Regions from separate parts of the Homo sapiens genome. Here region 1 is linked to region 2. Evidence: promoter capture Hi-C in 16 types of primary human blood cells and fetal thymus (Javierre and others, 2016). All regions are on one chromosome and are shown on one strand. Each heading gives the region's core, a stretch centred on a gene start or on the middle of the fragment in contact. The rest is flanking DNA. Distances are from core to core; before and after follow the strand shown. Region 1 overlaps PDK1-AS1 (PDK1 and ITGA6 antisense RNA 1). Region 2 holds the start of PRKRA (protein activator of interferon induced protein kinase EIF2AK2).

Region 1 (6,732 bases), core at 1,867-4,366, 5.9 Mb after region 2:
TTGAGGACGCGTGCCCGTGACACAGCCTCAGGAAGTCCTGAGAACACGTGCCCAAGGGGTGAACAGCTTGGTTTTATACAGGGAGACAGGAGACCTCAATCTATATGCAAGAAGTACATTGGTTCCTGCCGGAAAGGTGGGACAACTTGAAGCAGGGAGGAAGGCTTCCAGGTTATAAGTAGGTGAGAGACAAATGGTTGCAGTCTTTGGAGTTTCTGATAAGCCTTTCCCAAGGAAGCAATCAGATATGCATCTGTCTCAGCAGAGGGATGACTTTGAATAGAATGGGAGGCAGGTTTGCCTTGAGCAGTTCCCAGCTTGAATTTTCCCTTTAGCTCAGTGATTTTGTGGCCCGTGATATTTTCCTTTCACATATCAGTGAATCTTCATTCGCATTATGTTTTTCTGGACAACCACATGTGGATACCGTATGGGACATTATTCTTTTGGCCAGACAGCTTTGTCAAACCTGGTATCAGTATGCGCATCTGGAGTGCCCATCTCTTTCTTGGCAAATTTCCAGATATCTTTGCTGAGTGCCCGAGGGGCACACTTCCTGAAGTCCGTTTCAATGGGATGTGCTTGGGAATGTTGATGGTGTCACCACCTCATTGATGGCTGAATGGCCCCCTTCTTCTTCCCACCCTTCTTCTGCGGGACCTAAGTTGGAAAGAAGAAAACAATTTTAAGTTGAATATTACACATTCTTAAAATAGTCCCTCAAACATTTCCACAGCTCTACCCCAGCCTCTCAGGTTGCCTCCTCCTTTCTAATCTCCTTCCTTCTAGATTATTCCCTGAGCTCCAAAGTCTTGTCACTTTATCATGCACAGCATTATTCAGCTCCCTCAATCCCTGTTTGCAATTTTGCTGCTTTCTGCCTGAGCATGTCAAGATGCTCAGCTGAACATTAATTTGCGTGAAAGTACAAAGGCCCAGCAGAAACCTTGAGACTATTTTAGCAAGATTTTTTTCCCTCAGGAAGGAATCAACTGTTGTATAAAGTGCTTTTTCCTTTCTCCAAAGTATATTCACCATGCTTCAACCAATATACAGAGAATGTGCATATAAAAGTACATATTAAATGGTGTCAACTTTTGCTTCTTAGTCAAAGACTTAGAGTCCAGAAACTGGAGAGAACCTTTGAGGACTTTAGTAAACAGCTGTATTACTTCTCTGTTGTTATGGTCTGAATGTGTCCCCTAAAATTTCTATGTTGAAACTTAATTATCAATGTGATAGTATTAAGAGGTGGAGCCTTTAGGAGAGAATTAAGTCATGAGGGCAGAGCCTTATAAAAGGGCGTGAGGGGGTGAGTCAGTTCCTACCATCTCTTCTACCATGTGAGTGAAACTGCCTTTGAAAAATTATAACAGTGAGAAAATTTTGACAGTGAAAGAGATCTGACCTAACCAACTCCATCTTGCTTCTCACTTCCAAGCTGCCCTTGTTTATTCCTGGGCATAGGCCAAACTAACTTTGGGAGGAATTTAGATTACAAACTTTGAAACAAAGATGATAAGAGCTCTTCCATGAAACAAATCCCCAGCTTTCCTGGGGACCAGACCACCTTTGTTAAACTAACAGATTAGGCAGGGCACAATGGCTCATGCCTGTAATCCCAGCACTTTGGGAGGCCAAAATGGGAGGATTGTGTAAGTCCAGGAGTTCGAGACCAGCCTGGGCAACATAGACCTTGTCTCTACAAAAAATGAACAAAATTAGCTGGGCATGGTGGCACTTGCCTGTAGTGCTTCGTGGGGAGCATCACTTGAGCCCAGGAGGTGTAGTTTGCAGTGAGCCAAGATCCTGCCACTGCATTTCTGCCTGTGTGACAGAGCGAGACCTTGTCTCAAAAAATAAGTAAACTAACAAATTAACTAGAAGATTAGAAATTATAGCTCAGGAGTCATGCAGCCAGAGTCCACAAGATCACCAACCTCCACAATTGCTCCTATAGATAACATTGCTATTATAAAACCTAACATTGGTGTTTGAGTTATTTTTCAAATCCTGAATTCCAGTGGACCAGCTGGAACCACACAGATAAGTAAAATGACTCATCTGGTCTTGTGGCCCCCTCCAGAAACTGACTCAGCATAAGATGACAGCTTCGACTCCCTATAATTTTATTCCTGACCCAACCAATCAGCATTCCCCATTCTATAGCCTGCTGTCTGCCAAACTATAAAAAAACCCTAGCCTCTGAATTTTCAGGAGGTTAATTTGAGTAGTAATAAAACTCATCTTCTGTTTAGCCAGCTCCACATGCACTAAACTCTTTGTCTTGATAAATTGGCTCTATCTGGTCAGCAGGCAAGAAAAACCTATTGGATGGTTACATGAGGACACAGCAAGAAAGCCCTTATGAGACACTGAGTTCCGGCATCTTGATCTTGAACTTCACAGCCTCTAGAACTGTAAGAAAACTAATTTCTGTCATTTATAAATTATCCAGACTGTATTTTGTTACAGCACCACTAACAGACTAAGACACACATGTAGATATAAAGTGTAATCATACTGTAAGCTTCTATAAAAAAATTTTTACATAGCAGACATGAGCCAGCCCCTGTAAATTCACTGAGAATTTGTGATCCATGTTGGACTGATGTGACTGAAAGGAATGGAAAAAGCAATACAAAACAAGCTAGACTGTGTCACCTTGTCCCCAGTACCCTCTGGCTTCATGAGGTTCAGAAGACAAAAGGAAAGAAAAGTCATATTTTTTCCCCCTGCTTCTTTTCTTCCAAGCTATAATTTGTGTTCCTCTAAGTGTGGCCATAGCTTCCTACCCTTGTCCAGTATCCATAGAGATAGTACTAATTTTTCTCTGTTGCTGATTGGGTGCTCACCAGCCCTGGAGGTTTAATTCTGCCCACACTCCTGTAAATAGTCCCTTCATTAATTAATTAATCAATTTCCCTTTTGAGTGTGCTATCATTTCCTGCCCTAGAACCCTTTTTGATATGCTGGAAAGATAATTTTCAAAAAAGGTAAAATAATGACTCTCATGCAGCTATAAAATGAACATGTGTCAAAAATTTTATTTAATACATTAATTAAATGAGGGAACCAGTAAAGATATTATAGCCAGTTCAAAGGAGAAGTGAAAAAACAGGAATTCAGAAAAATTTGCAAAGGCTGTAAAACTGGCTCTTTCCTTGGGAATCAGGGAGGGTTGCCCTTCTACCTGACAGAATTTATTTGCACATGTATAGGTAAGAATTATGTGCGTTGTTACCATTTATCTGCAATTTACAGAGTTGTAAAATAGCTCAAAGACAGTGAATTGGAATCAGATACCCTGAAAAGTTGTGCTCTAAACAATACGTAATATTCCACTGAAGCATAATTTTTCTCCATATACATTTGCCTTCTTTCTTTAAAGGGTACTTTGATTCAGGTAATTACTTGTGTAGTGATATGAGGGCATCCTATTCACCAGGATTTATTTAGCACAAACATAGTTTTTATCTGGAGTAAGTGCTTTGAAATGCTGATGGAGTGGAAGGAGAGATCTGTAGGGAAGGCTCAGAACAGCTTTACAGGAAGCAAGGAGAGGAATTCACTTTGTAGAGCAAAGGGGAAGGGGAGGAGGCAGAAGATTGCAAAGACTGTTCACAATGTGAGCACTCCTTATAACCCAAACCTTCAGTAAAGTTTGCAAAAAAAGAGAGATTATTGGATACTGAAGCTTTTATGTGTTGTGCTTTTGTGAAAATTGGAGGAAAGGATGAATTTTTTTTATGAGAGTTTGTGGCAATGGAGATAGACTTTGCACACAAAGAGTCTGAGTGGTGGTGGGGTGGGGGGTACTATAAATGAGACTATGAGCCTCAAGAATTTACAGACATGGACAGGGAGAACTCTAGACTTTCACAAACTGAGACTGGTAATGTTAAAAGATAAATTTGGGCACATTAAAAGTTTTAAAAATTTATTTGAACTGTTGATTTAAAAAAAAGACTCAAACTCTGTAAAATATTTTAAGAGATTTATTCCGAGCCAAATGTGAGTGACCAAGGCCTGAGGCACAGTCCCAAGAGGTCCTGAAAACATGTGCCCAAGGTGGTCGGGTCATAGCTTGATTGTGTACAGTTTTAGGGGAACAGAAGTTGCAGGCAGACATCACTCAGTACATGTAAAGCGTACACTGCTTTGGTCTGAAAAGGCAGGACAACTTTAAGACGTAATATAGGGGGATTGGGAAACTTGTGGCAGGAGGGGGCTTCCAGGTTATAGGGAGAGTCAAAGATTTTCTGACTGGCAATTGGTTGAAAGAGTTAAGTTACTATCTCAAGACCTAGGATCAATTGAAAGGAGTGTCTGGATTAAGACAAGGGGTTGTGGAGACCAAGATTCTTATTACACAGATAAAGGTCCCACATAGCAGGCTTCAGAGAGAACAGATAGTAAATGTCTCTTATCAGACCTAAAAAGGTGTCAGACCTTAAAAGGAAAAACCTGGAAAGGGAAGGGGATCCTCTACAGAATATAGATTTTCCCCAGAAGAAATAGCTTTGCAGGGCTAGTTCAAAATATGTCAAAAAAATATGTTTTGTAGTAAAACACTTCAGTTTATTTCAGGACCTGCTATCTGTCATGTGTTGCTACTGAGGAGTAAATTCTGATTTTTTTATCTTGCCCAAATTCCTATCTAAGAGTTCTGGGGAGTCATGCCCTACAAACCATAAATTCTCATCAGATGGGTTTTATTTAACCCTATATATCGAGACTTACTTTTCACCCTGACTCTGGAATAACATTACATGACAAGGAAGAAAAGCAAAATATTTTATCCCAAAACATGTTTTTTTGCCATATCTTGAAATGGCCCTGCAAATCTGTCTTTTGTGGGGGAAAATTTGCATCAGTAAAGAATCTCTATTAACATAGCTAGATCTTTTACTTCCAGGCCCTCCCAATCCTAAAAAGATTAACTTAAAGTCTAGCACCTTTTAAAGATCTGAATAGGAAACGTTTGTCATCTGTTGTCTCTGAGGGCAGCCACAATAAAACTTCAAAAGAACCTTGGTCTCCACAATCCTTTATCTTAACCTGAACATTTCCTTTCTGTGATCTCAGGTCTTTAGATAAACTCAACCAATTGTAAATCAGAAAATGTTTAAATTTACCTATAGCCTGGAAGCCCCAACTTTGAATTGTCCTACCTTTCAGGACTAAACCAATGTATTTCTTAAATGTATTTGATTGATGTCTCATGCCTCCCTAAAATGTATAAAACCAAACTGTGCCCCAATCACCTTGGGCACATGTTCTGAGGACCTCCTGAGAGCTGTGTCACGGGGCCATGGTCACTCATATTTGGCTCGGAATAAATCTCTTCAAATATTTTACAGAGTTTGGGAGTCCTCGGCCTCCCAAAGTTCTGGGATTACAGACGTGAGCCACTGTGCCCAACCTTGTAACTGTTTCTTATCAGACTTTAAAAAGGTGCCAGAGTTAGTTAATTCCCTTCTGAATCAGGGAAAGTACTTGGAAAGGGAAGAGGATTCTCTGTAGAATGTAGATTTTCCCCACAAGAGACAGCTTTGCAGGGCCATTTCAAAATATGTCAAGAAATATATTTTGGGATAAAATCTTTAGTTTCTTGCAGAACCTGCTCCTTGTCATGTTGGTATCTTAGGCTACAAACAGTCTGTTTTGTCAGATGTAAAATCTCTATGTTAATGTTAATGCTGGTCAGCTGTACCTAAATTCCAGAAGGGAGGACAGAATAATGAGACATGTCTGACCCCGCCTTCCCATCATGGCCTGAACTAGTTTCTCAGGTTAACTTTGGAATGCTCTTGGCCAAAAGGAGGGGTCCATTCAGTTGGTTGGAGGGTTTAGAATATATATATTTTTTGAGACAGAGTCTCACTCTGTTGCCCAGGCTGACGTGTAGTGGCATGATCTCAGCTCACTGCAACCTCCGCCTCTTGGGTTGAAGTGATTCTCCAACCTCAGCCTCCCGAGTAGCTGTGATTACAAGTATGTGCCACCACACCTGGCTAATTTTTGTAATTTTAGTAGAGATGGGGTTTCACCCTGTTGGTCAGGCTGGTCTTGAACTACTGACCTCAGATGATTTGCCCACCTCGCCTCCCAAAGTGGTGGGATTACAGGCCTGAGCCACTGCCCCAGCCGAATTTTATTTTTGGTTTACAAGGGAGAAGCTCATTGGGTAAACCAACTAAGGAGGGGCAGAATAACCAAATACTTATTTTATTTTGTTAATCCTTTCAGAGGTGCAATGGTTTTCACTCACATCTGTGTGAAGAGACCACCAAACAGGCTTTGTGTGAGCAATAAAGCTTTTAATCACCTGGGTGCAGGCGGGCTAAGTCCGAAAGGAGAGTCAGCAAAGGGATATAAGGATGGGGCCATTTTATAAGATTTGGGTAGGTAAAGTAAAATTATAGTCAAAGGGGGGTTGTTCTCTGATTGGCAGGAGTGGGGTTCACAGGGTACTCATTGGGGGAGCTTTTGAGCCAGGATGAGCCAGGAGAAGGAATTTCACAAGACAATGTCATCAGTTAAGGCAGGAACAGGCCATTTTCACTTCTTTTGTGGTGGAATGTCATCAGTTAAGGCAGGAACCGGCCATCTGGATGTGTACTTGCAGGTCACAGGGGATATGATGGCTTAGCTTGGGCTCAGAGGCCTGACATTTGTGTTGACAGATTTTTACTTTGTATTTGCCAGGCCTCTTTCAGACTCAAGCAC
Region 2 (6,643 bases), core at 958-3,457:
CCCCCAGATAAATCCATTTTTAAAGAGGAAAATCAGGCACAAAATTAAGCATTGCTTGTTTTTAAATATAATTATACATCTTAAAAATACAAAGCATGGTTTCACCAAGTAGTTTACCACTGTATAATTCCCTGCCTCTGCTCATGTGCTCAGGTAATGAATTATAGATCAACGGTGTAAAATGATATGCTAAGAGCATGTTTAACTTGGAATGGCAGGCTATAGCACTAAAATATACACAGAAAACTAATAACGTAAAAATATGACCAATGTCTATGATAAGGATCACAGTAGATAGTGATTTGCCACTGGCAATGGGCCAATTTTAAGGGAAGCATATAGTGCTGTGGGAAGCAATGCAATTTAGGCACTAACGATAGTCCCGGATACAATCTACAGTGGACCTAGTCCAAAGGGAATTCCTTCACAAGTCCACCACCGGAATTTTGGCAACACCAAAGTGCTGTTTTGAATCCTCATGGCATACAGCTCATTGATTGAGCATTTCATTCATTTTCCATCTTATATGCTTACAAAACTGTGTTTAATATTAAATATAAATTCACAGATATAAACAATTATATGCAAATCTTTATTTAAAAAATAAAGCCACATTACATATAAGTAACTATATAAACTATTACCTAGTGGTTTCTTACTCTGAAGTTGGGCACACAGACTCTCTCTCTTTGAAATGGAGTCCTGCTGCATCTTTTTGTTTCATTATTATCCCAGCTACTTAACCTTTAACAAGAGCTATATAAAGTTCTGGCCTGTTTTTAAGTAATTTTGTGGCAAAAAATGAATTTTACCTGAGTGCTGAAATGTTTTGCCATAGGTGTTATGCGGAGTTCATATATTGTGAAATACTGACTATGTAGCCCTTCCAATAAGATATCCATTAAAACAGTGATGGATAGTAATCTATATACATACATATATAGACGGAGAGGAAGAGAGAATAGGCTCTAATTAAAGCATCAGATGATATAATTTGATTAGATTCTGAACATCTTTCACTTGTTTCAAGCATCCAGGGCTTACATGCTAACAAAACAACAAATCGCTTTTTTTTTTTTTTTTTTTTTTGAGAGGGAGTCTGACTCTGTCGCCCAGGCTGGAGTGCAGTGGCGCGATCTCGGCTCACTGCAACATTTGCCTCCCGGGTTCAAGCGATTCTCCTGCTTTAGCCTCCCGAGTAGCTGGGATTACAGGCGCATGCCACCACGCCCGGCTAATTTTTGTATTTTTAGTAGAGACAGGGTTTCACCATGTTGGCCAGGCTGGTCTCGAACTGCTTACTTCAGGCGATCCGCCAGCCTCGGCCTCCTAAAGTGCTGGGATTACAGGCGTGAGCCACCGCGCCCGCCCATAAATCACTTTTAATAATATCCTTTCGTACGAATAGCATTGTGCAAGCAATCTTCCATAACACCGAGTAAGCACAGGGGAGCATTTCTGCTAGTGCCTAGCAAGCCCCTGGAGAAGCGACACGTCATCTAATGGCCCACCAAAGGTGCTGCATCCCAGGCAAACGCCATTACAACCGACTACCCAGGTCCCCGGAAAGGCCTTCGTTTACTCCTAACGTGTTTTGCTGGGATGCACTGACCCAGCGTTCCATCTCGCGACGAAAGCCCAGAAGACAAAGGAGCCCGCCCGGCGGGAGAGGAGCGGGTGTTTGGACGTCCCCGCGTGTTCCTAAACACAGGGCTCGGGGACCCGAAGAGCGCACCGCAGCCCCCTGGAGCGTATATATCCGGGGTCTCAAGCTTCAGGACCAGGCCCGGGAGACTCCCTGGAATTCTGCCTTCGTAATTTTAGAATCTTTTTCTTAAAGTGACCCAGCCCCCAATCCGTCCTCCCCACAAAGGCTTAACTTTAGGCCTCAACGACCCTAGACCCACGCCGGACAATCCCTCTAATCCCTCTCTCCCGGCAAGAAACGGCCTCCTGCTAAGGACAAAGAACTGCGGCCTAGGGGCCAGTTACTACAGGCTGGTCAGGGCCGGCAGGGGCGGGCGCGGAGAACCCCCGGGAGCCCAATGCCTGTGCCCACGCGGGAGCGGGGCGGAGCCGGGCGGGAAGGGGGCGGACCCTGGAAGGGACAGGGGCGGAGTTGGGCCGGGACGGAGGCCCGCAGAGGAGCAGCGAGGGGGCGTAGCCGGAGCTACGGCACCAAGGCTCCGCCCCCACCCTGCCTGCCCCCTCGCTGGAGCAACGCAAGCAGGAGGCGGGGGAGTCGGAGGAGGTGGCGGCGCTGGAGCTCCTCCCGGGGACCAGCGACCCGGGGAGCGAGCACGTCGCTCCGCACCGCTCTTCCTCCAGCCGCTGAGCCGTCCCTTCTCGCCATGTCCCAGAGCAGGCACCGCGCCGAGGCCCCGCCGCTGGAGCGCGAGGACAGTGGGACCTTCAGGTCAGCGTGCGGGCAGTCAGGGCCCCAGGGCCGGGAGCGTTGGGCGGCAGGGCCGGGGCGCGGGGAGCCGGCCCTCCAGAGGCATTCTGGGTAAAGCCGTGCCCGGCGCCCACGCCTCCGCGGCTGTGGGTGCTCGGCCCCGCCCTCTCGGCGGCGAGGGTTGGGGTCTGCGGCCGGGCCCCGCCCCTCTCGTGGTCCCTGGCGGCGCGCGGGGCGGGCGGAGGTGACGCTCGGTCGGCGCGCCCGGGAAGGGATCGTCAGGTTTTCCCTGAGAGGCTGCGGCGCTGCTGCCAGCCCTGTTCTGTTGAGAATCTCTCCTACCCGCATTCAAGTGCTCTCTCTAAAGACCTCGCTCACCCCGCCTGCTCCTGCGGAGTGACTGCCGCAGCGGGGCCGGAAGACAGGTGCGCCCCAGCCTCGCCAGCTCTGGCCCTGGCCTCCGGGGAACTCGGCGCCTCCCTCGTCACCGTCGGTGGCGGTTAAAACTGGCCTCTACGCTTCTGCTTCAATCTCCAATTTGGCATGCAAAGCACACCTTTTTGTGGTTTTTGCAGTTTGGGGAAGATGATAACAGCTAAGCCAGGGAAAACACCGATTCAGGTATTACACGAATACGGCATGAAGACCAAGAACATCCCAGTTTATGAATGTGAAAGATCTGATGTGCAAATACACGTGCCCACTTTCACCTTCAGAGTAACCGTTGGTGACATAACCTGCACAGGTCTGTATACACAGTTAACCTGGATGACCGAGTGGGTTGGCAGTCAATACTTGGTGTTGCTTTTCAGTTCGGAAAAGTTCTCTTTTTGCCAGACAGCTGTGAGGAACAGGCTCTGAAACTGAGACCTCTCATCTCAGGTCGTTAGGGCTTTTCAGCTGCATCTGATTCTCTTCCTAATTTTCTCTTCCCCACATACCAAGGAAGCTTAGAAACTAAAAAGTTACCCAGCCGGATGGCTGGATCCTGCATGGCTCTTCTCATACCCTAGGATCCTCCTAGGGTTCTTCTTAGAATTAGAGGGAAGCAGGAAAGGTTCTTGGAGCAGTCATAGCTGGGTCAGTAGGTACTGTGAAGTTTCATAGATTATAGCGGATGCCAGGAGGCATGACCCCAGAATTTTCTGAGCGTCTCTCCTCTCTGTATGGACTCATTTGGCACTTTAGGTCCATTGTGCTACTTTTGATTCTGTATCCAAACAAAATGAGGAAGGGGAGAAGGTCCTCATATATTACATAATAACTTCTAGTTTTTGAAACTGAACAGATATTTTGTATATTATCCACTTTTTAAACAAGAAGAAACAGGTTCAGAGAGATTATAAGTAACATGCGTATAGCAATGAAGTCACAAAGCAATGAAATTTTAAAGTTCATGCTTTCTTTTGGTCTGTGAGCTTGAGCAAATGATAACTAAAGTTGCTCATTTGTAAATGTGGACATTATTTTTCTTATGTATCTATTTAATTGCAAACACAGAAAACATTGGATGCTAAATTTAATTTGGAAGAATGCCAAGAAAAAAATTTAGTAGGAAGGCTCAAGTTCTACCATCTGGAAAATCTGAAGACAGCATTTGTTTGTGTCCCTGGAAGTTTGGAGTCTTTTATTTTAATTGATGCCACTTTAAGAAAAGTTTAAAACTTTTTGTGTGAGGCAGTTAGATTGTAGGTGCTGGCCGGAAGGGTCCCCATGGGAACCATAGAGTCAACACTGCATTACTTACTTTAGCTAGTCTATTTCTAGATAGGAAGAATTCAAGAAAAGGGAGGGTTTTTCCCTCTCAATGTGTTTTAGACCCCAAATTAACAACCTATGGCAACCGTTCTGCCTACGCCCTCTTCTCACACTACCATGGCTTCCTGTGCAAGCTTATCTGCCTCCATGGCTTCTGATACTGTCTAAAGACTAATATTCTGAAATGTCTGTCTACATCCCAAGCCCAGTTACAGAATAGTGTATCAGTCTGTGCTTGCTGAGCATCTTTGCCTGGATGACACAGAGGCCCCTCAAGCCTCTCATTGTCCCAAACTGAATCCATCTTTTCCCTCAAACCCATTCTTCTTGCATTCCCTTTCTATGTAAAGGCTCCACAATCACCTAGTTCAGTAGAAATGTAGGCTTTTGTCTTCCTAACTACTTCCCGTCTTTCTCCCTCTTGTCCAGTCTGTTATTAAACTCTATCCATTGGCGTTTAATAATCCACTAACTATCCATTGAATCTGTCGGCTTCTCTCTTCTGGCCATTGCTACTGCCTAGGCCACCATCATCTCTCACTTGGATTGTAGCTGCAGTCTTGTAGCTACACGTTTACCTTCTAGTCTTGTGATGTCCTTTTGTCACATTACAACCAGTGTTCATTCTTTTTTTTTTGAGACAGGGTCTCACTCTGTCACCCAGGCTAGAGTGCAGTGGCATGATCTTGGCTCACTGCAACCTCCGCTACAGCCTGCACTTAGGCTTGTTGTAACATATCCCATTCCATACTTCAGGTGCCTATTAACAGACAAAAATCCCACACTACTCTGTTGGCTCTTGAGGGCAGGGACCCTGTATGCTATATCCCTAATACCTGTGTTAGCAGATAAATATATGGTTTCTGTGTCTTCTTACACTTGAGGGCCACACTTGAAGGCCACACTTGAAACTTATTCCATGAGGGTATGGGAGTTTGAACTTAAAAGGAAAAAGATGGAATTTATCATTTGCCATTGTGATTGCTTACTGAAATTAGACATCAGTCTTATCCCCAGTCCCAACTTAGCTACCCATGCAGAAGATACAGACCGTCCAGAAGATACATAACAAGCTGTCACCTTATTCCATAAAACTCTTTCCTGTTGTACCCAACACATAATCATGACTGCTCAGCCTAGCAAAGCAGTTTGATACGTTATAGGACAGGCTGTCAGAATAAAATTATGCACATTTTGCTATCAAACAATTCTGCTGTAAATGGTTCCTTTAAAAGAAACTTCTTGCTGCAGAAGAATTTCCCCTCCAGGAATAAAGGAAGAGTAAAATACTAATCTGCATTTCTTCAGAGGTGTGACACGGTCTACTTTATTACCATGTTATATAATAAACATATATAATGTAGAAATAAGGATTTTTATGCAGGTATGCATAGAATTATATAGAACTTTAAAAAGTTATTTTTTAAAATTTTTTCACATGGTGAATATTTTATTACAGTATATAACCATGTAGTATATAACATGTACATATTTTTATGTACAGTATATAACGTACATATTTTTATTACCTAGTATGTGTATGTAAAATCTATAGTGACTTTGTTTTGTGTATTGAAAACATCTTTGTAAGCTGCACATTTTTGTGGGAGATAAAGACTTCTTTTTTTAAATCTTAATTCAGGTGAAGGTACAAGTAAGAAGCTGGCGAAACATAGAGCTGCAGAGGCTGCCATAAACATTTTGAAAGCCAATGCAAGTATTTGGTGAGCTAAATTTCTTTGTATTCAGCAGCTCAAAAATATCATGGCTGAGGTAAGATTAAAAATTTGAACATGCTTACAAAAGCAACAAAGTGAACAGTTGTTAGCATCCTACCTCTCAAATTCTATTTCCTTATGAAAACTTATCATCCATTAAAGAAAACTTTATCCAATCAAATCCAGCAATTAGCTATTAAATGAAGGTGCTCATGAACTAGGCTTTACTGTTTTTTTTTTTTTAATGGGATACAACAGTAGAAAATCAGTGCTTCTTGCAAATATTAATATTAACATTTTGTATTTAGACTTTGATTATTTCTACATTGAAGAAAACAAAGTGTGAGATGGAGAAAGATCCACTAAAAGTACTCTTTTGGGAATTCTAATTTTGAAGAAGCAGGCAGAGGTTTTCTTTTATTATATAATGTATACCAAAAGAAGAGAATGTTAAGTGGGATATTAATTCTTGACATATCTTTCTAAAGTAAGATTTTTTTTTTTTTTTTTTTTTTTTTGAGACGGAGTCTCGCTCTGTCGCCCAGTCTGGAGTGCAGTGGCGGGATCTCGGCTCACTGCAAGCTCCGCCTCCCGGGTTCACGCCATTCTCCTGCCTCAGCCTCCCAAGTAGCTGGGACTACAGGCGCCCGCCACTACGCCCAGCTAATTTTTTGTATTTTTAGTAGAGACGGGGTTTCACCGTTTTAGCCGGGATGGTCTCGATCTCCTGACCTCGTGATCCGCCAGCCTCGGCCTCCCAAAGTGCTGGGAT

Evidence for each region. Contacts are between HindIII fragments. The CHiCAGO score rates a contact against its expected background, and 5 or more counts as called.
Region 1: a contact is called between a fragment that was not itself captured here and the fragment with the promoter of PRKRA in region 2, in 1 of 17 cell types (neutrophils). The highest score is 6.1, in neutrophils.

What each region holds. Positions count from the first base shown.
Region 1 is chr2:172,548,293-172,555,024 of GRCh38, reverse strand. All of the region lies in intron 1 of PDK1-AS1 (PDK1 and ITGA6 antisense RNA 1), which reads left to right. Among named protein-coding and RNA genes, the nearest start is that of PDK1, 4.4 kb to the left of the region's middle. RefSeq lists a silencer at 1,910-2,204 and enhancers at 1,910-2,204, 4,710-5,451, 5,452-6,194. The HindIII fragment of the contact is 1,167 bases long and covers 2,533-3,699 here.
Region 2 is chr2:178,446,739-178,453,381 of GRCh38, reverse strand. PRKRA (protein activator of interferon induced protein kinase EIF2AK2) reads left to right here and starts at 2,207. Exons shown (of 8, transcript NM_003690.5): 1 at 2,207-2,416; 2 at 2,971-3,140; 3 at 5,796-5,877. The coding sequence starts at 2,352. It overlaps PJVK (pejvakin), which reads right to left and starts at 2,004. Exons shown (of 7, transcript NM_001042702.5): 1 at 1,613-2,004. RefSeq lists a silencer at 1,935-2,714 and an enhancer at 2,477-3,051. The HindIII fragment of the contact is 1,572 bases long and covers 1,775-3,346 here.